2 separate regions of the Homo sapiens genome follow, and region 1 is linked to region 2. The links are contacts of gene promoters, found by promoter capture Hi-C in blood cells and fetal thymus (Javierre and others, 2016). All regions are on one chromosome and are shown on one strand. The core of a region is centred on a gene start or on the middle of the fragment in contact, and the rest is flanking DNA. Distances in the headings are between cores, read along the strand shown.

The links. The method cuts DNA at HindIII sites, captures the fragments that hold promoters and counts their contacts. A CHiCAGO score of 5 or more calls a contact.
Region 1: a fragment that was not itself captured here is called in contact with the fragment with the promoter of SELP in region 2 in 1 of 17 cell types (non-activated CD4 T cells); the score reaches 6.6 in non-activated CD4 T cells.

What each region holds. Positions count from the first base shown.
Region 1 is chr1:168,523,634-168,530,304 of GRCh38, reverse strand. No RefSeq gene overlaps it. Among named protein-coding and RNA genes, the nearest start is that of XCL2, 17 kb to the left of the region's middle. The HindIII fragment of the contact is 3,645 bases long and covers 1-3,287 here.
Region 2 is chr1:169,625,508-169,632,015 of GRCh38, reverse strand. SELP (selectin P) reads left to right here and starts at 1,892. Exons shown (of 17, transcript NM_003005.4): 1 at 1,892-1,944. The coding sequence starts at 1,942. The HindIII fragment of the contact is 5,122 bases long and covers 1-2,204 here.

The DNA.
Region 1 (6,671 bases), core at 216-2,715, 1.1 Mb after region 2:
CCTCCTTGCAGCTTACACAAACCTAAACAGAGAACAGAGGAATGATTCTTCTCAATCTTGAGGGGCAAGTTTCCTTGTTAGATTTATGCCCCATCCCCCGACCCCCCACCACTCCGATTGAGGACTTTGATGACAACATGTACAGCAATAAGGCCTTTTGGGGATTTGTATTGTCACCAATAGTTATTTATTGGTTCATGTCATCAGTTGAGGAGAAAGTAAATTTGATAATAGTGTCTTTCTTTACATATTTTTTAAAACACAGAAAATGTTTTCAATTTGAAGAAAAATACAGAGAATAAAATAGCAAATATCAATGTACTTTCTACTCAGAATTAGCAATTGACACTGTGCCTTATTTGCTTCAGATATTTTGTAAAGTAATACAAGATCTACATCCTTTAGGATCTACATCCCCCATCCTATTTCCTGTCCTCCCTGGGCAGAGGCAAGCACTATCCAGCAGTTGATGGATGTTTTTATTGTTTGTGTTTTATGTTTTGCTCCTAATGGCATGGTATCAGAATTCTTATTTCCCCTGTCCTCCCAAAACTTGATATTGCTAGTCTTATGTTTTTGCCAATCTGATCATTGTGAAATAGTGTCTCATTGTTTTCACTTGCATTTCCCTAATTACTAGGAAGTTTGAGCATTTTTCATATATTTGGGTTGGCCATTCAAACTTCCTTTTCAGTGAATGGTCCTTTCGTATGTTTTGTCCATTTTCCCACTAGGTTGTTAGATTTTTCTTATTGATGTTTAATAATTCTTTAATATTCTGGATACAAATCCTATAGATTTTTTTTTTTTTGAGACAGAGTCTCACTCTATTGCCCAGGCTGGAGTGCAGTGACTCGATCTCAGCTCACTGCAACCTCTGCCTCCTGGGTTCAAACAATTCTCCTGCCTCAGCCTCCTGAGTAGCTGGGACTACAGGCACATGCCACCACCCCCAGCTAATTTTTGTATTTTTAGTGGAGACAGGGTTTCACCATGTTGGTCAGGCTGGTCTCAAACTTCCGACCTCAGATTATCCTCCCACCTCAGTCTTTCAAAGTGCTGGGATTACAGGCATGAGCCACCAAGCCCGGCCTATTTTCTTAGTTATATGGAAGTAATGGAGAAGTTTTAAATTGAAGTTTTCAAACTATTTGATGTTTTTCTTTGTCATTTATCATTGTGTAACATAAAAGTATAACATCAAAGTATTATATTTTGATTGAAAGGTTTTTCATATTTAGCCACTTTATCTGGAATTTTTTTTGAAGTATAGTATGAAGTAAGGATCTATTTTTATATTTTTCAGTATGGAAAGGTAGTTTTCTCTATACATTTATAGCTAATCCAGTATTTTTCAGACTCTATATTTGTAATATATTAATGGGGCTTTTTTTAAATTAGTGGATTGTAACTACCATTTTTTAAAAAACTAAATTATATAGAAAATATTAGACTACATTTCATATAGTAAAGGTAAACAGTGTTTACAGAACACATACACACATATGCTTTGGTTGAGTACTGAAACATAAAATAAAATATATTTTTTTCTGTGGGTTATGACTGAAAACGTTTAGAGTACACTAAAAAATGTCAATTATTTCTCCCATTTATTTGTTACAACATTTCTATGATATATCATGGTCTTATATGTGATTAGGTTTGCTTCTGACCTATCTATTCAATTCTGTGGACTTTATTTAATATAGTGCTATTATCATGGTATTTTATTTGTATGGCCTGTTAACATCTTCTTCATGTTATCCTTTAAACTAGTCTTGATTTCTTGACTATCTTTCCATGTGAATTTTAGATACTCTTTGCCTAAATAAAACAAAACTTTTATATTTTGATTAAAGCTGTTTTGAATATATTCATTAGTTTGAGGAGAATAGACGTATTTATAATATTAAATCTTGGTCTAACTTTCCTTGATTTGGGTTTATTTTTACATCCTCCAATATTTTCTGTGTGGGTTTTGTTCACGTTTAGGTATATATTTAACGAACACTTATATGTACCAAGCCACTATTCTAAGCACTTCATAAATCATTAATTCATTTAAGACTCACAACAATCTTATGAAATATAACAATTATTTTCCCCCATTCTATTGTCATGTTACAAATAAGGAAACTTAAGCACAGAGAGGTTAACTAATTTTCTTAAGGTCACACATCTGGAAAGTATAACAATCAGAATTTGAATCCAGGCAACTCGGTCCCAGAGTTCTTGTGCTCATCCAATACGGCATGCCGTCTCTCCAAACATTTTGTCAGATTTATTTCTAAGTACCTCATTGCTTTAATGAAAACAATAGCCAAATTGATCGGGATGTTTATCTCTGTGGTCAATTTTTATAATAATTCTATAAATAAATATTTCTTATGTGTTGAGTGTAAATTTTAATATATGAGATCAAGGTTGTTACTTGCACTGATATATTTTATACATGTATTTCTTCGCAATGTTTTATCTGCGTGATCTGGAAAAGATGTGTTGAAATTCCTTACTATGATTCTGGATTTGTCAATTTCTCCATATAATGCTCGTGTGTGTGTGTGTGTGTGTGTGTGTGTGTGTGTGTGCACGCGTGCATGCGCACACGCATGCACGTGCATACCAATTTTATTAGATGCATATGGGTTCACAGCTGTTACATGTTTAGACACTTTTCCCACCACTTTTCATGCAGTAAAATCACTTTGTATACCTTTAACTATTTCTTTCCTCAAATTCAGTTTTGTTTGATAGTCAAAATACAGTGATGTTTTAAAATGTGGACTTTGAAGACAAATGGCGTGGCTTGGATTCCAGCTTGGCACTTGCCAACTACATGACCTTAGCACTAACCACAGTGCCTGGCTCTAGAAATGTTGGTTGTTGCTAGACTGCTATTGTTTTCTAGACTTTTATTTGCTAGGTTACTGGCACGTCTTTTCCAATCTTTGTCTTTCAACTTATTTTTATCATTACGTTTTTAAAAGTGTGTTTGTAAGTAGCAAATAGCTGAATTTTTAATCTACTCTTTTAATAGATAGGGTTACTCTATTTATATTGTGATTATTGACAAACATTTTTTATATCAAGAGCTGACAAATTATGGCCCATGGGAAAAATGTAGCCCAGCGTGTGCTGTTGTATATAATATTTTAGTGAAACATAGCCACTCTCAGCCATCTAGGATGGTTGCTTTTATCCTTCAACCAGTAAAGCTGAATCGTTGCAATAAGGATATTACCTACAAAGCCAAAATAATTTATTATTTGGCCTTTTACAAAAAAGCTTGCTGACCCCAGATTTACACCATCTTACTTTTTCTTTTAGACATGATTTCTTCTATTTTTTCCCCCTTGTCCCATATTCATTGGGTGAATCAAGTCATATTTACTGTCTTAGTTTCCCTCTACTAATTTAAAGGTTATACATTCTATTTCTAGTCTTTTAGTGGTCATTCTTACGTTTTAACATGAATATTTTTGTTTTTAAAATTACTTTATTGAGATGTAACATACAATAACTTGCACATAAAGTGTACAATTTGATAGATTTTGACATATATATATATATACCCATGAAGTTAAAATCAAGAAAATAAACATATCCATCACTCCCAAAAGTTTTCTCATGCATAACCCTCCTTCTCATCCTTCCCTGCCCCCACGTCCCCAAACTACAAATGATTTGCTTTCTGCAAGTATAGATTAGTTTGCATTTCCTAGAGTTTAGTATAAATTGACTCATACCTTATACACTCTTGTTTCTGACTTTTTTCACTCAGGTGTTTTGTTTGTTTGTTTGTTTGTTTTGAAACGGAGTCTCGCTCTGTCGCCCAGGCTGGAGTGCAGCGGCGCGATCTCGGCTCACTGCAAGCTCCACCTCCCAGATTCACGCCATTCTCCTGCCTCAGCCTCCCGAGTAGCTGGGACTACAGGTGCCCGCCACCACGCCTAGCTAATTTTTTTTTTTTTTTTTTTTTTTTTTTGTATTTTTAGTAGAGACGGGTTTCACCATGTTAGCCAGGATGGTCTCGATCTCCTGACCTCGTGATCCGCCCACCTTGGCCTCCCAAATTGCTGGGATTACAGGTGTGAGCCACCAAACTGGGCCCACTTGATATTATTATGAGCATGGAATTGTTGCATGTATTTGTAGTTCATTTCTTTTTTTTTTTATTTTAGTATATATTGCCATAACAACAAATAAGGACATTTTCACCCAACCACAATCATACTGTTACCCATAACAAAATTAATAGTAATTTCTTAACATTATTGAATACAAAAGTCTTTATTCAAATTCCCCTATTAGTAATCAAAATGTTTCTGCAGGTTGTTTTCCTTTTTTTTTTTTATCTTTTAAATTTTACTTTAAGTTCTGGGATACATGTGCTGAACGTGAAGGTTTGTTACATAGTATACATGTGCCATGGTTTGCTGCACCTATCAACATGCCATCTAGGTTTTAAGCTACGCATGCCTTAGATGTTTGTCCTAATGCTCTCGGTCTCCTTTACCCCCACTTCCCGACAGACCCTGGTGTGTGATGTTCCCCTCCCTGCGTCCATGTTTTCTCATTGTTAGTTCATTTCTTTTTATTGCTTAGTAATATTCTGTTGTATGGATAAACCACAATTATTTAACCACTCATCTGTTGATGGAAATCTGTGTATTTTCCACTTTGAGACTATTAAAAATAAAGCTGCTATAAATATACAGGTATTGATATTGACATATTTTCTTTTTCTCTTGGGCAAAAACCTAGAAGTGGAATCACTGAATTATATTGTGGGTGCATGTTTAACTTTTTAAAAATTGTCTGTTTTCCAAAGTCGTACCATTTATATTACCACCATCAATGTGTCGGAGTTCCAGTTTTTCTACATTCCTGTCAAGACTTGATGTGGTCAGTCTTTTTAATTTTAGCCACTTATTAGGTAGGTAGTGGTATTTCATTGTGGTATCAATTTGCATTTTCTTAATAGCTACTGATCACACCCCTTTTCATGTGCTTATTTGTCATCGTTATGTCTTCCTTAGTGAAGTAGCTGTTTAAATCTTTTACCCATTGAGGGAGAGAGACACTTGTTTTGTTTATTTGTTTTATTCAACAAGCATATTGGCTTAAGAAAATCTACATATTAGTGAATCCTCTATAGTCCTCCCTGCTAAGACAAGAATTTTAGAACTTTTACTTCTAGTCTTAAAAGTTCCATCTTCTGTGCCATCACAGTATAATATTTTAGTTCTACCTAGTTTTTAACCATTTGTCTTAAAAATAATTAATCCCTTTTGTACATCTGTACTTAATTTGGAATTACCTGCATAACACCAGTTTTTTAGCCTCAGTTGTTCCTAACATCCCAATCCCTCCTTCAGGTTTAATTTTTTTTCTCCAGGAGTAATATTTATTAGTTCTTTCACTGAAGTAACTAGGAAATTAAGTTTTTGTATCTCTGAAAATGTCACTATTTGCCTCACATTTGTATGCTTATGTAACCGTGTGACTCCAGGTTGACATAAACATTTTATTCTCATTTTGAAGACATCTTTTTATAATATTGATATAGTTTGGATGTTTGTACCTGCCCAAATCTCAGTTGAATTGTAATCCCCAATGCCAAAGGTGGGCCTGGTTGGAGATGTGTGGATCATGTGGGCAGATCCCTCATGGCTTGGTGCTGTCTTCATGATAGTGAATTCTGGTGAGATCTCATTGTTTAAATGTGTGTGGCACCTCTCCCCACAAACACTCTCTCACAAACTCTCTCTCTCTCTCTCTCTCTCTCTCTCCATTCTTGCCACATTATGTGCCTGCTCCCCCTTTGCCTTCTGCCATGATTGGAAGCTTCCTGAGGCCCCCCTTAGAAGCAGATGCCACTGTGCTTCCTGAACAGCCTGCCAATTAGATCTCTTTTCTTATAAATTTCCCAGCCTCAGGTATTTCTTTATAGTGCTTCAAGAATTACCTAATACAGATATCAACTAGTGTTTATTGTTTTTATAAAAAATCGTTGCTTGTGAAATTTTTTGTTATTTTCTAAGAAATGTATCTTTTCTTTCTAGTAGCTTTTAAGAATTTTCCCTCTGTCTTTGATGTTTTCCACTTCTACTACAATATGTCTGGGTGTAGAAATTTTTAAATTCATTCTGCTTGGAACTGAATGCATTTCTTCAATCTGAAAACTCATCTCTCATCAGTTTTGTTAAATTCTCAGCCATCATCACTGATATTTCTTCTCCTTTATTGCATCTAGTCTCTCTGTCTGGAGCTCCTATTAGAAATATGTTGGACCTTCTCATTCTATCTTCCATCTTTCTTAACCTCTCTTCTACATTTTCCACATTTTCCTTACCTGTTCTGTATTCTAACTAATTTCTTCAGAGCTAAATTCCTATTTGCCTATTTTCTTTTCAAATATGTCTAGTTAATGTTTAATCTGTCTGTTGAGGTTTCTTTAAATTATCATTCTCAATATGTTTGTTTAGCTCTTTCTAATTTTTTTCTTTATATCCTTTACTTCATTTTTTTTAAATTTTTTTTCTTTTTTTTAGACAGGGTCTTGCTCTGCCATTCAGGCTGGAACACATTGGTGCAATCTTGGCTCACTGTAACCTCCACCTCCCAGGCTCAAGTGATTCTCCTGCTTCAGCCTTCTGAGTAGCTGGGAC
Region 2 (6,508 bases), core at 643-3,142:
GACATGGAGGCAAGTCTTATAGAATAATAGCCAACACTTAAACTTACACTTAACAGCGTGATAGGTATTGTTCCAAACACATTAAATTCATTTAATGGTCCTTACATGTCTATGTATTTGGTGATTATTATCCTTATTATTCACATTGCTGAGTGTATTATTCTGTTCTCATGATGCTGATAGAGACATACCCGAGACTGGATAACTTATTAAAAAAAAAAAGGTTTAATGGACTCACAGTTCCACGTGGATGGGGAGTCCTCACAATCATGGTAGAAAGCAAAAGACACGTCTTACATGGCAGCAGGGAAGAGAGAGAAATGAGAACCAAACAAAAGGGGTTTCCCCTTATAAAACCATCAGCTCTCATGCGACTTATTCACTACCATGAGAACAGTATGGGGGAAACCACCCCCATGATTCAATGATCTACCAGGTGCCTCCCACAACCTGTGGGAATTATGGGAGCTACAATTCCAGATGAGATTTGGGTGGGGACACAGCCAAACCACATCACTGAGGAAACTGAGTTATAGGGAGATTAGTAACGCCCAACACAGCTGGTAGGTGGTGGAGCCAGGCAGTCTGACTCTAGGGTCTGGACTCTGAACTGCATCATGCTGCCAAGAAGTTCCTCATTTTTTCCTCTCTCTAAGTTTCCCTTATTCCCCTACAGTCATTCCTTCAACAGCATTTCCTTCACCATCTTTTCTACTTCTACTATATAATTAATTTTTTCTTCTTGGTCCCAAATTCCAACGTGCAAATGCAGCCTTATATACCCTAATTCATCTTTACCTTTAGACTTTCTTCCAATGTTTCTACTTCATTCCATTTTAAATTTATCCATGAGATGCCTATTTACAAGCTGTAACCATCATGAAGTGAATGAAGAATAATACCTACTACTGTACAATAGAATTCCAAGAGTATAAATAGGAGTTATGGCTTTCTGACTTGAAACTAAATACTTGATACTTGATTTTGCTGTCTGAGATCAATCTGAAAAGTAATAATAATCACTAACATTTGTTGAGCATCAATTGTGGGCCAAGTGTCATTTCAATCACTCTGTACATATTAACTCATTTCATCCTACAACAACCCGGTGAGGCAAGTTCTGTTATTCTGTTTTACAGTTGAGGAAACAGAGGCATAGAGAGCTTAAGTAGTTTGCCCAGTAGATAGCCAGAAGAGGAGCCAGGATGGGTCTCGGGCAGTTTAACAGCACAGCTGAAGTCTTAACCACTATGCCAACAGCTTTTTGGTCCTACACATCCCATGGGAAGAGGAAAATAAAAAGGTATCTATTTGTATACCTTTTTATTTCTGATATAAGAAGCAGAATTCCTTTCACATGACCTATGTCTATTTAATACGTCATTTTGAAACTTACCAATAAAATTTCCCAAGCGCCAGAAAACTGTTAGTGGCTTTTTCCATTTCTCTCTATTTTTTTTTGTGCTACTAATTTTGCTTCTTTCCCTCAGAAGGCTGCCGGAATAGTAAACATTCACTGACATGTCATAATTACTGGAAAATGGGCACTGGAAAATCACATTGTAATTAATTCAAAGCATGTTTTCCAAATGTACTACTTTAAATTGGAGCTTATATCATAATCCAAGGAAACCTTTGTGTGTGTACTGTTCCCACATTGCTCAGCCTGGGATATCCAGGAGTAATTCACCTTGCGCCTGCCTCCAGACCATCTTCCATGGAAGGGGGTGACCCCTTGCCTCTTGGCAACCACTATTTCTAAGCTGCCAACATTACTCTTGCATTATCAACATTCTAACTTCATGGGAAGGGCTGTGGTGAGTTTCTGGAATGTGAATAGGAAGTTGTTTTTCTAAACAGCCTGACACTGAGGGGAGGCAGTGAGACTGTAAGCAGTCTGGGTTGGGCAGAAGGCAGAAAACCAGCAGAGTCACAGAGGAGATGGTGAGTTTATTTTTTTCTGCATGGGAAGTGGTTGAAGTGAGTTGGAGTGGTATGGAGTAAAGTCAGGCAGGTAAAGGTTCAGAAAGTGAGGAACAGCGATAGCCATGGAGTTTTATGTTGAATTGCCTATTAGATTTTGTGAGTACTTTTAAACTTGCTGTCCACTTTGACCCTCCCAACACCCTTGTGAGTTGAGGTTGCTATTTCTATTTTACAAATAAAGCCATCGTGGTTTACAGAGGCTGTGTTTTATCTAAGCTTCACTGTTAGGCTACATGATGTTGGGATCTGGGGCCTGTCCTCTGGCTCCGCAGCTGCTGTTCCTCCTACTAGAATTTATAGGGGCTCTCTGAGAATAGATCATGGTAAACCTGTCACCCCATTTTCCAAGACTGTACTTCTCTCTGGGATAAATGATGGAATAAATGGAAGACTGGGTAGGTGCCCTGGGACAAGCTTACAATTGAATAGTTTCTCATCCCCATCCCTCCCATTTCTTTCTGTGAGCCTATGAATCTTCTGGGACTGATCTGGAATATCCACATAGTTTCCTTTTCTGCCCTAAGACTCAATCTTGTTAATGACTCAGTTTCTTCTTCTATAAAATGGATATAGTAATAATACTCTATAGTTTCATCATGAGGATTAAATAAGATTTTGCTGAAAAGCATCCAGATCTGAGCCTGACACATAGTAAGTGATTAGTAAATGTTAGCCATTATTGTTACAATAAAAAGAAAATTCTTAGGAATAGTGGGGTTTAGGATTCAGGGAAGATCCAAGGATAGCTAGGCATTTTGAACTCAGCAATGTTATATGCTCATGGATAAGATGCACGTGGTTAGGCTACTTCTAATTCAGGGAAGATCCAAGGATAGCTAGGCATTTTGAACTCAGCAATGTTATATGCACCTAGATAAAATGCACATGGTTAAGCTACTTCCAATTTTCCTCAGACTTTCCAAGAGTATCCCACATAGTCCCAGGGTCCGAAATCCTGCAGTCTGTGGCTATGGAGGAACCAGGCAGGTCTCTGTTTTTGAGCACCTTTCTGTGGGACTCCAGAAAAAAGTACCGCATACACCTGATTCATCCTACTGCTTTGCTTTACTATAGCACACTTTTCAAGTACTTATAATGTGGGTTTCTGTGTTGGGGAAAACAGGAATAAGAGTATGATAAAGAGAAGAGGAAGGAGTTTGAGCCTGTCTTAAGTTTGAACCACAATGACCTAAGGATATGAATTACTTTTGTCCTGTCTTTTTGCATGTCATACTTCTGAATTGGTTAACTTAAATGAGCAGTTATTCCTCTCTTCCTTCTACTCTCCTTGGCATCCTCCTCTATTTCAAAGGTATGAACTTATTGGATCAGAGAGTTCTTTGAGATTTTGATGAAAGTTACAACTTGTCTTTCCCAGATGAAAGCAAAAACATCGACATAAACACCAACCTTTAGAGACAACCACAGGAGGTTCCCAGACCTCCATGTGGATCCCAGGGTAAGAACCCTTCTCGATTGCCTCCTGGGCTTTATGTTCAGAAGCCCCTCTCTTGGTACCCTGAAATTAGGCTTGAGCTCTACAGCGAAGTGCTAAGGCCCCAGCCCTGGAATGGTTTTTAATATTTCAAAGACAAGACCTCTTCCTTTTCCTCTGAGCACATTTGGCCCCAAAGATTCAGAAACCTCAAACTGCCTGTGTAAATTTTGCTTCAAGTTCAGAGAGTGGCTTTAATTAACTTTTAGGACCTGAGAAAATGAGGATAAGGTTTTTCTGGTGGGGTATTTTCAATCAGATAGATCTCAGAGGAGTAGCTCTTGATTGGGAACTTATAGTTAAATTGCACTGATGTTTGTCAAAGTTTTAGCGGGCTATGGCCGGGCTCAGTGGCTCATGCCTGTAATCCCAGCACTTTGGGAGGCCGAGGCGCATAGATCACTTGAAGTCGAGAGTTCAAGAGCAGCCTGGCCAACATGGTGAAACACCATATTTACTAAACTTACAAAAACTGGCTGGGCATGTTGGCATGTGCCTGTAATCCCAGCTACTCAGGAGGCTGAGGCAGGACAAACTCTTGAACCCAGGAGGTGGAGGTGGCAGTGAGTTGAGATCACACCACTGAACTCCAGCCTGGGTGACAGAGCAAGACTTGTCTCAAAAACAAAACAAAAAAAAAGTTTTAGTGGGCTAAGGAGCAGGTCTGGATTTTCGTCCATTTATACCTTTTAACCACCTTATGTGGCTTCCAGTCCTTACTCTTCTTTTCATTACCTGTTTTTCAAAATGCAACTAAAATAGTTCAGACTCTCCTGGGCTAGCCACCAGCTCTTAGAATGTGCATCTTCAGAGATCTTTAAGTAGAAGCTTATTGATCAAATCCTCAAAAATCAAAATGACTTACTACATAAAAAACTGTGTTTAGAAAAAACCCTGGACCTAAACCTAGAGAGTAGGCACACAGTGGTTTTATAAATGACATTCATTATATTGTCTTCAAGGTGTCTAATCTTTTTGATTAAAAAGTAAATCAGAAACTTCATGAAGTCAAATACAGAGCAAATCCTCACTATTTGTAGAGATATAACTCATCTCTGATCCAATAGACTTTTTAAAAAATTTTAAGTGTCGTACTTTATTTTTAATGCTAATATTTTACTCAAAATAATGGCAATTGGTAGTCTAAATTAAATATATGCTTGGATTCTAAGTGTTGATGTCCTGGGTCCCTTCTTGTCTATATTCATAATTTGCTCTTTGGCTTAGAGACAACCTCTTTTCTCACTGTATTTCTTTTTCCACCCCTAAGCTGGGCTACCAATATCTGTGCCACACCACTAACACCACCACCGTCCAGAAACATAAGGGAACTAATGTATTAGCTGTAATAGCTTGTAACATCTGGGCTTTGCTACCAACAAGTTGTATAGTTCTGCATCCTCAACAACTCTCATATTCACCTCCCCTATTTGCATTCCCACTGATGCCAGACCAAACCTGTCCCTCTTTAACTCTCACTGGGACCATTGCAATAGCCTCTTCTTTTGCAGTGCAATCTCCCTGATTGTAACTCATTTAAAAAAAAAAAAGTATCGCACTACTCTCACCCCTATAATATCAGCATTTTTGGAGGCCAAAGAAAAAGTATTGCTTGAGCCCAGGGGCTCCAGGCCAGCCTGGGCAATATAGTGAGAACTTATCTCTACAAAAAATTAGCCGGGTGTGGTGATGCATGCCTGTAGTCCCAGTTACTCAGGAGGCTGAGATGGGAAGATCACTTGAGGCCAGGAGGTGGAGGTTTCAGTGAACCCAGATCATGCCACTGCACTTCAGCCTGGGCAACAGAGCAAGACCCTGTCCCCCAGCCCCACAAAAAAAATCATACCACCATTAAGTGCATGTGTTCATGATACTTCTCTGTTCAGAAGTATCCCTTCTGCCAACTGGTATTTGTGACCCACAAGATATGGTCTCAAACTACCTTTTCAGTTAACCTCTAGGATCTCCCAATCTTCAGCAGGCTGGAGTGCAGTAGTGCCATCTCAGCTCACTGCAACCTCTGTCTCCTGGGTTCAAGCGATTCTCCTGTCTCAGCCTTCTGAGTAGCTGGGATTACAGGCATGCGCCACCATGCCCAGCTAATTTTTGTATTTTTTAGTGGAGTTGGTTTCGCCATGTTGGCAAGGCTGGTCTTGAACTTCTGACCTCAAGGGATCTGCCTGCCTTGGCCTCATAAAGTGTTGGGATTACAGATGTGAGCCACCGTGCCCAGCTTCCGTTGGCTTATCATTGCACTTAGAATAAAATCTCATCCCCTTGTTTTGGATCCCAAAGCCCGATGTGATCTGTCACTACCCCCGGCTCGTATTTTTCTCTCCATTGCTCATTCCATTCTGGCCACACTAATGTCTTCATGTTCTTTGAACACACTGCAGTTTGCTTCCACCTTAAGGCCTTTGAAATAGCTTTTTCTTCTTCCTTTAATGCTCTTCTTCCTGCTTCTCACTGGCTGGTTTCTTGCAGTCATTCTTCTCTCCACTTAAACATTATCTCATTAAAGAGGTCTTCCCTGACGTTCCTGACCAACATAGTGACACAGTCATTCTATCACATAAGTTTCATTTCCTACCTAGCACTTATGGCTATATTCTGTTAATATTTTTCATGTTTACTTGTTTAGTACTGTTGTGTAGTTATTAGTATTTGTTTCATTGTCTTCTCTACCAATAGAATGTGCATTCTATGAGGACTGGAATTATGTCTGTTTTCACCATTTTATTTGTTCACTTAGCTATTATCACTACTGTAAAAGTAATGCATTCAGTTATAATTATTATGTATTTTTCCAACATTTTCTTATTTAGCATATTTTTGTCTTACTTTCAGTTATTCCTCTGCCATTATTCATTCATATATTTATCCATAAAATGTTTATTGAGTATTGAGTATGTGCCCTACCATGGCTGGGGATTCAGACCTGAGTAAGTAATAGTCCTTGCCCTTGAGAAGCCTCTGTCAGTAGCTTCCTCAGCTGTATGCTCACATGTTTGTTGCGCATTTAAATTG